Regions from separate parts of the Homo sapiens genome. Here all the other regions are linked to region 2. The links are contacts of gene promoters, found by promoter capture Hi-C in human tissues and cell types (Jung and others, 2019). All regions are on one chromosome and are shown on one strand. The core of a region is centred on a gene start or on the middle of the fragment in contact, and the rest is flanking DNA. Distances in the headings are between cores, read along the strand shown.

Region 1 (3,660 bases), core at 701-3,200, 160 kb before region 2:
GCATGTAGCCAATCCCCAGAGCCCAGGTACCTCCATTGTTTCCAGCCTCTTTTAAAGCTTTTCTTAATGATGGTAACAGCAAGCATCCTCTATGTGCCTGGCAGAAGGCTAAGCATTTCACACACTTTGCCTCATGGAGTCCTCATGAGAGGCCCATTTTACTGATGAGAAAATCTGGGAACCGTAACAATAAACCATATGACTTAGGTCACACAGCTTGAAGGTGGTGAAGCCAGAATTCGAACCCTGGCTGTCTGATTCCAGAGCTCTTAACCACCCTGTGTTAGTTATTCTTTTCTTTTCTTTTCTTTTTTTGAGACGAAGTCTTGCTCTTGTCCCCCAGGCTGGAGTGCAATGGTACAATATCGGCTCACTGCAACCTCTGCCTCCCAGGTTCAAGCAATTCTCCTGCCTCAGCCTCCCGAGTAGCTGGGATTACAGGCGCCTGCCACCACGCCCGGCTGATTTTTGTATTTTTAGTAGAGACGGCGTTTCACCATGTTGGCCAACCTGGTCTCGAACTCCTGACCTCAGGTGATCTGCCCGCCTCAGCCTCCCAAAGTGCTGGGATTACAGGCGTGAGCCACCGTGCCCAGCCTATTCTTTATAGTTCTCCACCTATTTGACTGATTATATCCCTGACATAAATTCCTAGAGGTGGATTTGCTGGGTCAGAGAATCCACATGCTTAAAGGTTTAATACTAATATCTAGAACACCATCCCAAGAAAGTTGTATCGTGGCCGGGTGCGGTGGCTGACATCTGTAATCCTAGCACTTTGGGTGGCCGAGGAGGGAGGATCACTTGAGATCAGGAGTTTGAGACCAGCCTGGGCAAGTCGTGAGACCCCATGTTACAAAAAGTTTTTAAAAAATTAGCTGGGTGTGGTGACCTGTACCTGTAGTCAGCTATTTGGCAGGCTGAGGTGGGAGGATTCCTTAAGCCTAGGAGGTTGAGGCTGCAGTGAGCCGTGATTGTGCCACTGCACTCCAGCATGGGTGACATAGTGAGACCCTGTCTCAAAAAATTAAAAAAAAAAAAGTTGTGTCAATTTAAACTCCCATGACCGTGCTCAAGTGTGCATTCCCAAAACTTCACACACACTCATAAGCTTGACAAGGAAAAGTGATTCTTCAGCTGAACGGTCAGATTGAGCATCTTTACAGAGGTTTGTTAAGCTCTCACTCCTTTGTGAACCCCCTATTCAAGCCCTGTGCCAATTTCACATTTGGGATGTTTGTCTTTTTTTTCTTATTGATTCATATGTGCTTTTTGTATATTAAGGCTCTTAATGATTTGTCTGCCATATACGTGGCAAACAATCTAATCTCCCTTGATCTTTTCTTTTCCTTTTTTTTCTTGAGATAGAGCCTCACTCCGTTGCCCAGGCTGGAATGCAGTGGCACCATAATAGCTCACCGCAATCACTGCAGCATCAACCTCCTGGGCTCAAGCCATCCTCCTGCCTCAGCCTCCTGAGTAGCTGGGACCACAGGTGTGTGCCACCATGCCCAGATAAATTTTTAAAAATTATTTTTGTAGGGATGGGGTCTCACTATGTTGCCCAGGCTGGCTATCTCCTCTGATCTGGGACTCCAGCTAGATCTCCTTTTATTGCCCAACTGGCCTCAATGAACATTTCTCTTCTGTCTAGGCCTCATTGCAGGTTGCATTTTATTGGCGGTTCCTCCAGAAACAAAAGCAGAGACTTTGAGATCTTATGAACCTCAGTCTTACCCAGAACACTTGAAGAACCCTTCAGCTTTCCATGGCAAGAAAGCTCAGGCCCTGGGGCCAGAAGCCACGGCTTTGTGTCTGGGTTCTGTAGTTTACTGCTATGGCTCCAGTTTCTGATTCCTCCAAGTTAAGATGGGTTGGTAAATTCTGCCACGCAGAATGCGCTTCTAGCCACGCCCACTGTGTATCAAACCATGCCCACTGTACATAAACCACGCCCTCTCATCTAGCTACGCCCACCAATCGTCTAGCCACGCCCACCTTCGAGTGGAGAGGTGTGATTAGAGCATTAAAGAGAGAGGCGTGATTAGAGCATTAAAAAGAAGTGAAGAACCGAAATAGTGAGGATCCTGGGCCAGGGGGAGGAGGAGGGAGAAGATCCCCTGGCCTCGATGGCTGGCAATTCCTTCATGCCCCTAGCACCCACCTGGTTAAAGAAAGGATAGCTGGGCGCAATGACTCACTCCTGTAATCCCAGCACTTTGGGAGGCCGAGGCAGGCAAATCTTGAACTTGAGGCCAGGAGTTCAAGACCAGCCTGATCAACATGGCAAAACCCCATCTCTACTAAAAATACAAAAATCAGCCGGTGTGGTCGTGTATGCCTGTAATCCCAGCTACTCAAGAGGCTGAGGCACGAGAATCGCTTGAACTCAGCAGGCGAAGGTTGCAGTGAGCCGAGATCACACCACTTCACTCCAGCCTGGGCAACAAAGCAAGACTGTCTCAAAAAAAAAAAAAAAAAAAGAAAAGAAAAGAAAAGAAAAAAGAAAAAGAAAATAAAAAAAAGAAAGAAGGAGGCACCTGGCTACTGTATTCCACCTTTCTCCTCACCCACTCTTTTTTTTTTTTTTTTTTTTGAGACGGAGTCCTTCTCTGTCATCCAGGCTGGAGTACAGTGGCACCATCTCGGCTCACTGCAACCTCCGCCTCCTGAGTTCAAGCTATTCTCCTGCCTCAGCCTCCCAAGTAGCTGGGACTACAAACACGCACCACTACCTCCGGCTAATTTTTGTATTTTTAGTAGAGATGGGGTTTTGCCATGTTTTTCAGGCTAGTCTTGAACTCCTGACCTCAAGTGGTCCGCCCGCCTCAGCCTCCCAAAGTGCTGGGATTACAGGTGTGAGCCACCACGCCCGGCCCTCACCCGCTCTTTAAAATATCCCTACCAGGGTCAATGGTTTATCTGTGCCTCAGTGTTCCCATCTGTAAAATGAGGATAATTTTAAGGATTACCTGAGTTAGCATCTGTGAAGGGGTTAGAATGGTACCTGGCACATAGTAGGCACTCAATAAATGGCATCACTGATATGGTTCCACGGATGGTTGTATTATTAATAGGAATAAAGTGTGGGATGGAAAAACGTTGCTCTGGGCACCTGGAACCAGCCCCAGGGGCACGTGGGGCTCTACACAGGCTCTTTACCCCATGCCAGCGGGAGGACACTTTGGGGGGAAACTGAGGCACTGACAATCCCCTGCCTTCCCAGCCCTGAGTCCTTCTCACCCATGCCCAGAGCCTCAGAGGCCAGCAAGGTGCCCCAAGGGAAAGCGACACTTCTGAACTGCGCTGCCTGGCACAATTACCGTTTTCATCCTCATTAAACTACATTTTCATTCTAATTAGAGTTTCACCGCCTCCCAGAGAGAAGGGCCGATTACTTTTCAGCATCATTAACACTGGCTCCCTCCCCACTTTCCTCCTCCCCTGCCCAGGCTCCCACTACACCAGGGCATTCTCTCTCTCTCTCTCCTTCACCCCATGGACCAGAGAGAAGCAACAGAACATTTATTGTCGCCTACTGGGTGCCAAGTTGGATGCTAGGAACCTTCCCCCACAGCCTCTTCGCCTTATCTTGGGCTGGTCTAATTTTCTTTTTGTCCCCAACACTTACCCCTTTTTGTTTTTGTTTTGTTTTGTTTT
Region 2 (3,502 bases), core at 144-2,643:
ACATGCCTGCTGTGCGGTTGCCAACTGTCCTAGGCTCCCCACTTTCCCTGGCTCCCCTCACACCTGAACACAGAGATGAAGAGCCACTTCAGCCCGGATATTGAGTGTTTGGGCTGGAATTTCAGCATCCTCACCCCCTCATCCTGGGAAGGGCCTGAAACTTAGCAACCCCACGGCCACACAGAAGCAGTGTGGCCAGCAGGAGGAGGGGAAGGGGGTTCCTGGGAGCACACAGAAGCTAGGGGAAGGGGGAAACCACGCCCAGGCTCCCCGTTCCAGCACAGTGTTGCTTTGGAGAGAAGGAGGGAAAGAGGCCTCTGATTCACTCTTGAAAAACCGGCTCCTGGGTGTTTCCGGGGAGAACGCCTACTTCCCAGCCTCGGCCCAGGTTGCCAGGGGGGAACCCAGTGGGCCCAGACCCCAGCATCCTGGCCCCCTGCAGACGCCACTCTCTTCTCTGGACCCAGGTAGTTAGACCTGCCCTCTCCAGCTCTGGGGAGAAGGGAAAGGAGGGCAGCTTCCTGTTTGAGTGGCTGGTAAAGCAAAAGACCAGCAGGTGTGGCCCTGATGATGAGTACGGGGTAGGGGGTGGGAGGGGTAGGGGGCCGGAGCTACTCAGCAACAACTGAGCCGTGGAGTTATTGGTATCCAGTCTAGTGGGTGTGACTCCAGTTCTGGACCCTGGGGCATGAGTTCCAGTCCCAGATGTGCCAGTTACTAGCTGTGTGACCTTGGGCAAGTCACTCCACCTCTCTGGGTAGGCTGCCTCACCTTTTTTACAAGAAGGCACAGCACCTCCCATGAGGTGTTTAGAGTCAATTATCCTCATGGTAAATGCCTGACACGGAAGCTCTCCAATAAATGCTAGCTGAGGTGGAGTTTTTCATGACGATTATTATTCAGACCGTGGTCCTCACTGCGTCCCCCCCAAGGCCCTGGAGGGTTCAGACGCGGTTAGCTCAGGGGAAGTGCCCAGGAAAGGGTCAGAAACACTGACCCCGCGCCTGTCCACGCTGGGATGGGGACAGTCCAGCCGGGGGACGGGGGGAGGGGCAAGCCCAGAAACCCCAGCCCAGCGTTGGGAGGCGTTTGTCCCCTGCCCGCCAGCAGGAAGGGAGCTGCCCCCACCACCCCCCACCCCCGCTTCCCCTGGGAAGGGGCCTCCGGCATCCCCGCGCGCAGCCTAGACCTCCAGTCGCGTCCACGGCGCCGGCCCCACCCTGCAGGATCGGCCGGATCCTCGCAGGCCCGCGACCCCCGAGGCCCCCGGAGCAGACACATCCTTCTCGCAGAGGCCACTCACCTGCTCCGCCGCCGCCGCCGCCGCCGCCGCCGCCGCCGCTGCCTCCGCCTCCCCGTGCGCACCCGGCTCGGCCCTCCGCAAACTCCAGACCGGGCCTCTCCCGCAGCGGCGCCTGGGGGGCGGGGCCGACGCCCGCGGCCGGCCAATCAGCGGCTGCCTCTCGGTGCTCGCAGCCAATCCGCGTCTTCCGCTTCGGGTGGACCCGACGGAAACATTCCAGAGGGATCCCTCCGCCTCGCCCGGCTCTTCCCGACTCCTCCCCTCGCCGCGAAGCAGTGGACCGTTCCGCCCCGCCTAAGCCGCGGCTGGCTGTACCACCGGAGGGCTGAGGAGGGGGGGGAGCTGCAGCTGGGCCCCGGCCAATCGCGAGGGAGGAAGGAGACAAGCGGCCAATGGGAAGGAAGCTGGGGCCCCTGAACCACGTGCTGTCGGCTGAGTGTCAGTCTCGGGTGCCCTGGGTGGTGAGGGGCGGGGGAGTCAGGTGACCTAGGCCAGGTTTCGGGGAAAGGATTCGAACTTCCGACGTCCAGGAAAGCGGACAGTTTAGGAGACCTGGGTGGGGGTCAATGGCAGTCCCCAACCCAGTTCCCTGCCCGGCCTCCTCTGCCCCAGCCTGGCCATCCTCGGAGCGGATAAAAAGATGCATTCAATCTCTGGGGGCGGGCGGGGGATCGAGATGAATAGGGAGGGTCCCGAGTTTCCCTGCTTCCTGGGCTGTACAATGGACAAAGGCATTCATTCATTCATTCGTTCACTCACTCATCAAATATTTAATGTGCCAGACTGCTCCGTGCCAGACTCTGTCCTACCTCTGAAGACGCGTCAGTGAATAAGCTGAATGTGCTCCTGGTAGAGGTAACAGAGCGTGCAAAAGCCGGACAGAGAGATACAGCACGCTTTAGGATACTGCAATATCGTGGGAGCTAGTAAATCAGTGTGGAAAGGCAAGATGCAATGAAAGACAAGGGTGAGATAGTTTATCTGCTTGTTGGTTTGTTTATGTGCTAGGTCACAGAAGGTACCCAGCCAGCCTTTCATAGATCTGTCTCCTCCATCTGACTGTGAGGGTGGAGGCTGAGTCTCTCTTGTCAACCCCTCACTCCCACCTCAGGCTGCCACACGGCAGGTTCTCAGCAAACCTGTGTGGACAAATAGACCATGTAGTTTATAAGGAAGGGGGATTTATCAGGTGGACACAGATCCAAGAAACAAGAGTCACAAATGCACCTGGACCAGGCCAGGACGCTCAGTTCCCGGGACAAGTGAGATTTCCTTGTTCTAGTTCAAACCCAGCCACTTGGACAGCAACTGGGGCTGAATGCTGTGTGTTCTGGGAACTGTAGTTCCTGGAAGCCTCTAAGTGCTGAGACCCTGCTCAAGCTCCATAGAAAGACTGGTTCTTTGCAGTTCCCAGGGTGAGATGTTGTGCATATCAGTCCCACCAGGACCTGCAGAGGGGCAAACTAAAATGGGAGATGGAACCTTGAGCTTTGCTGCTGAGGATTGCCTAGCCAGCCCCACCCAGCTGGCAAACACCGAGATTGCTGTGGCAGGCCAGGCAACAGGCACAGCTATTGTCCGTCCCTTCCTGTTCTGCTGACCTCTGCCATCCCACTGAGCAATCAGTTGCCTGGGCTGGCCAGTACCCTCTGTGGGACTGTGCTGCCTGCCCTGCTTGAGCCTGGCATCTAAGCTGCCCCCTGCACACTTGGAGAGGACGGGATGCTGAGCCCAGGGGACAGCATGACTGAGGCTGCAGAGTCCTGAGCCAGACTCCAACTGGCTCCTGTTTCCTGATGAGGAAGTGCCCGGAGAAGGGGTGATGGGATTGTGGGATTGCTCAAGACACAGAGCAGCACTGGGCACCTCCTTTCTGAATTTTTTTTTTTTTTTTTTTGAGACAGTGTCTAGCTCCGTTGGCCAGGCTGGAATGCAGTGGCAGGATCTCAGCTCACTGCAACCTCCACCTCCTAGGCTCAAGTAATCCTCCCATCTTAGCCTACCGAGTAGCTGGGACCACAGGCATGTACCACCACACCTGGCTAATTTTTGTTGTTGTTGTTGTTTGTTTGTTTGTTTTTTTGAGACGGAGCCTCACTCTGTCACCCAGGCTGCAGTGCAGTGGTGCAATCTCAGCTTACTGCAACCTCCGCTTCTCAGGTTCGAGCAATTCTCACGCCTCAGTCTCCTGAGTAGCTG
Region 3 (3,516 bases), core at 625-3,124, 200 kb after region 2:
TGAAGGGGTGGATATGTAGGATAACTATGTCCTCTGGGCCCTGTCTTCTCTCTCGCCACTTCCGTCCCCAACTGAGGAAGAAAGGGAAGGGTGAGTGAGGAGCATCCTCATCCCTGCCCTAGGGGACCTAGGGACTTCCTTCTGTGCCTGACCTCTAGAGGTGGCATGGAAGAAGAGTCCCACAGCAGACCCTGGGGCTCTGAGCGGAGCTCCTCCAGGGCCATCCTTGTCATCCCTGGTGAGACCTATTGAAAACACATGTGGCCATAGAAATATAAATTCAGCTTAAATTAATTAAGATTCAGTACATTTAGCCGGGCATGGTTGTGTGTGCCTGGAATCGCAGCTACTTGGGAGGTTGAGGTGGGAGGATAGCTTGAGCCCAGGAGATTGAGGCTGCATTGAGCTAGGATTGTGACCCTGCACTCCAGCCTAAGCTACAGAGTAAAACCTTGTCTCTAAAAAAAAAAAAAAAAAAAAAAAAATTAAAAAGTTTAAGCGCTCAGTTTCTCAGTCGCCCCAGTCACATTGCCCAAGTGCTCAACAGCCACATGTGCTGGTAGCCCCTTTCTGGAAAGCACAGGCATGGAACATTCCCATCATCAGAGAGTGATGTCTGTTGGACAGCACTGCTCTGAAGAATTCTGCAATTAAAAGGATTCTCAGATGAGGCCGGGCGTGGTGGCTCATGCCTGTAATCCCAGCACTTTGGGAGGCCGAGGCGGGCAGATCACTTGAGGCTGGGAGTTCAAGACCAGCCTGGCCAACATGGTGAAACTCTGTCTCTACTAAAAATACAAAAAGTTAGCTGGGTGTGTGGCACGTGCCTGTAATCCCAGCTACTTGGGAGGCTGAGGTAGGAAAATCGCTTGAACCCAGGAGGTGAAGGTTGCAGTGAGCCGAGATGGCGCCACTGCACTCCAGCCTGGACGACAGAGCAAGACTGTCTCAAAAAAAAAAAAGAAAAAAAGAAAAAGACTCTCAGATGCAATGGAAGTCCTACTTTCACAAGTATATAATTAAGGACGTAAGTCTTGGGGGATCCCAGGGACTTCACAGAAATTAAGCTTTCAATCCCAAATTTGTGATGCTGTGCCAATTTGTAATAAGGAGTTTAGGAAAAACTCTCTAAGCAGGGAGGGACAGGCTCTGCCATCACAAGTCAGTGGAGTTACACAGAGAGCCATAACTTTACACTTTAGGATTTATCCAAATGTTAAAAGAAAGTAAACATTTCAGCTTGGTGGCCCATGTGATCTCTGTCACAACTATTCAGTTCTGCCGTTGTGGCCTCAAAACAGCCATTGATGCATTGTAAATAAATGCACGTGGCTGTGTGCCAAGAAAACATTATTTACAAAAATAGGCTTTAGGCTGGATTTTCCATGCCTGCTGTGTCTGAACATTTTCTCTTCTCCAGTGATAACCAGTCGTTCTGCTCAGTGGTGGGGGTGGTATTTGCCGAGCCAGAATGTGTGTGCTGTTTTAGGAATCCGTCACCTTTGAGGATGTGGCCGTGGAGTTCATCCAGGAGTGGGCATTGCTGGACAGCGCACGGAGGAGCCTGTGCAAATACAGGATGCTTGACCAGTGCAGGACCCTGGCCTCCAGGGGTAAGGCTGGCGTCACCTGGCTCCTTCCTGTACGCAGGCACTAAATGCTTCTTAAGCGCCTGCCATGTGAAGAAGACAGACGTGGCTTAGGCTTTGTGGCACTTAGCGTCCACAGGATGACAAAGCTTCATCTGTTGCATTGACTTCTTTCCCTCTGTAGTAAGGCCCTGTTTGGGTCTCCTTGAATTTGGCCCCAGGCTTCTGAGGTGAGACAGCCTCAGCCCCTTGGGGCAGAGGGGAGGGTGTTTGTGGGTTGGGTCCTGAGTTCATTAGCTATTGGGCAAGATCCCTTTGCTACCCATCACACTTGCTCAGCCCAGAGAATCTGAAGCCCATATTGAAGCTGAAGGAGAGTTTGAGTTGAGAAACAAGAGTTTGTTTTCCCCTGCAAGCCCTCTCTCTCTCAGTGCCTGTGTCTTTCTTCATGTGCAGGAACTCCACCATGCAAACCCAGTTGTGTCTCCCAGCTGGGGCAAAGAGCAGAGCCAAAGGCAACAGAACGAGGGATTCTCCGTGCCACAGGTGTTGGTGAGTACCAGGCAGGCTGTGGATCCCCCGACCCCCCTGGTTGGGTGGTGTGCCTTGGGAAGTGTCAAGAGCATTTTCAAAGGCCCTTTGTTCTGAGGGGACATCGAAGGCCATTCGGAGTGAGGTTTCTCAAGTTCCTTTAGCTTCTCTTCTATTTTCACTTTCTAGCCCTCCTCTCCTACTTTCCTTTGGTTTCAGAAAAAGATTTGTTCTAATTTCTCTTAAAAAATTAGAGGGCCAGGTGTGGTGGCTCTTGCATGTAATCCCAGCACTTTGGGAGGCCGAGGCTGGTGGATCACCTGAGGTCAGGAGTTCGAGACCAGCCTGGCCAACATGGCAAAACCCCATCTCTACCAAAAATTAGCCGGATGTGATGGTGCACACCTGTAATCCCAGCTACTTGGGAGGCTGAGGCATGAGAATTGCTTGAACCTGGGAGGTAGAAGTTGCAGTGAGCCAAGATTGCATCACTGCACTCCAGCCTGGGGGATAGAGCGAGACTCTGTCTCCAAAAAACAAAACAAAGCAAAAATTAGAGCTATAAGTCACACACCATGAAATTCACCCCTTTAAAGTGTGCAGTTCAGTGGTTCACAACCTTGTGTAAACATCACCACTACCCAATTCCAGAACATTTTCATCACGCCAAGTAGAAACCCTGTCCCCATGGGCAGTTACTCCCCATTACCCCTCCCTCAGCCCCTGGCAGCCACTAATCTGCTTTCTGTCTCTATGGATTGTCCTATATAGACATTTGTATATGGAAATCGTATCATAAGTAGCCTTTGGTATCCGGCTTAGTATAATAGTTTTGTGTTGCAAGTAAGTTAGACTGGGTAGTTTATAAACAATAGAAGTTTATTTGACTCCTGGTTCTGGAGGCTGGGAAGTCTAAGGCTGAGGGGCTGCATCTGGTAAGGGCCTTCTTGCAGCATCATAACATGGTGGACGAGATCATGTTGCAAGAGAACAAGAGAGGCCCAGACTGGTTTTTACAGCAAGGCCACTCTTGAGATAACTAACCCCCTTCTGAAGTAATCACAGGGCAGATTCCTCGTGACCTAATCACCTTTTTTTTTTTTTTTTTTTTTTTTTGGGACAGAGTCTCGCCCTGTCACCCAGGCTGGAGTGCAGTGGTACGATCTCGGCTCACTGCAACCTCTGCGTCCTGGGTTCAAGCGATTCTCCTGCCTGAGTCTCCTGAGTAGCTGGGACTACAGGTGCACACCACCACACCCGGCTAATTTTTGTATTTTTAGTAGAGATGGGGTTTCACTGTGTTGGTCAGGCTGGTCGAGAACTCCTCATCTCGTGGTCCACCCACCTCAGCCTCACAAAATGCTGGGATTACAGGCGTGAGCCATTGTGCCCGGCC

What was found. Contacts are between HindIII fragments. The study calls those that stand out against the background at their distance.
Region 1: a contact is called between a fragment that was not itself captured here and the fragment with the promoter of GIPC1 in region 2, in 3 of the 25 tissues and cell types used here (liver, lymphoblastoid cells and spleen).
Region 3: a contact is called between a fragment that was not itself captured here and the fragment with the promoter of GIPC1 in region 2, in 2 of the 25 tissues and cell types used here (dorsolateral prefrontal cortex and lymphoblastoid cells).

What each region holds. Positions count from the first base shown.
Region 1 is chr19:14,335,720-14,339,379 of GRCh38, forward strand. All of the region lies in intron 1 of LINC01841 (long intergenic non-protein coding RNA 1841), which reads right to left. All of the region lies in intron 1 of LINC01842 (long intergenic non-protein coding RNA 1842), which reads left to right. Among named protein-coding and RNA genes, the nearest start is that of LINC01842, 3.8 kb to the left of the region's middle. RefSeq lists a silencer at 1,864-2,064 and enhancers at 2,761-3,261, 3,262-3,660. The HindIII fragment of the contact is 5,959 bases long and covers 1-3,660 here.
Region 2 is chr19:14,494,734-14,498,235 of GRCh38, forward strand. GIPC1 (GIPC PDZ domain containing family member 1) reads right to left here and starts at 1,394. Exons shown (of 9, transcript NM_005716.4): 1 at 1,304-1,394. RefSeq lists enhancers at 709-1,635, 2,916-3,415 and silencers at 1,298-1,527, 1,668-1,727. The HindIII fragment of the contact is 12,252 bases long and covers 1-3,502 here.
Region 3 is chr19:14,693,521-14,697,036 of GRCh38, forward strand. It overlaps ZNF333 (zinc finger protein 333), which reads left to right. Exons shown (of 12, transcript NM_032433.4): 3 at 1,490-1,613; 4 at 2,046-2,141. Among named protein-coding and RNA genes, the nearest start is that of ZNF333, 5.2 kb to the left of the region's middle. The HindIII fragment of the contact is 5,396 bases long and covers 1-3,516 here.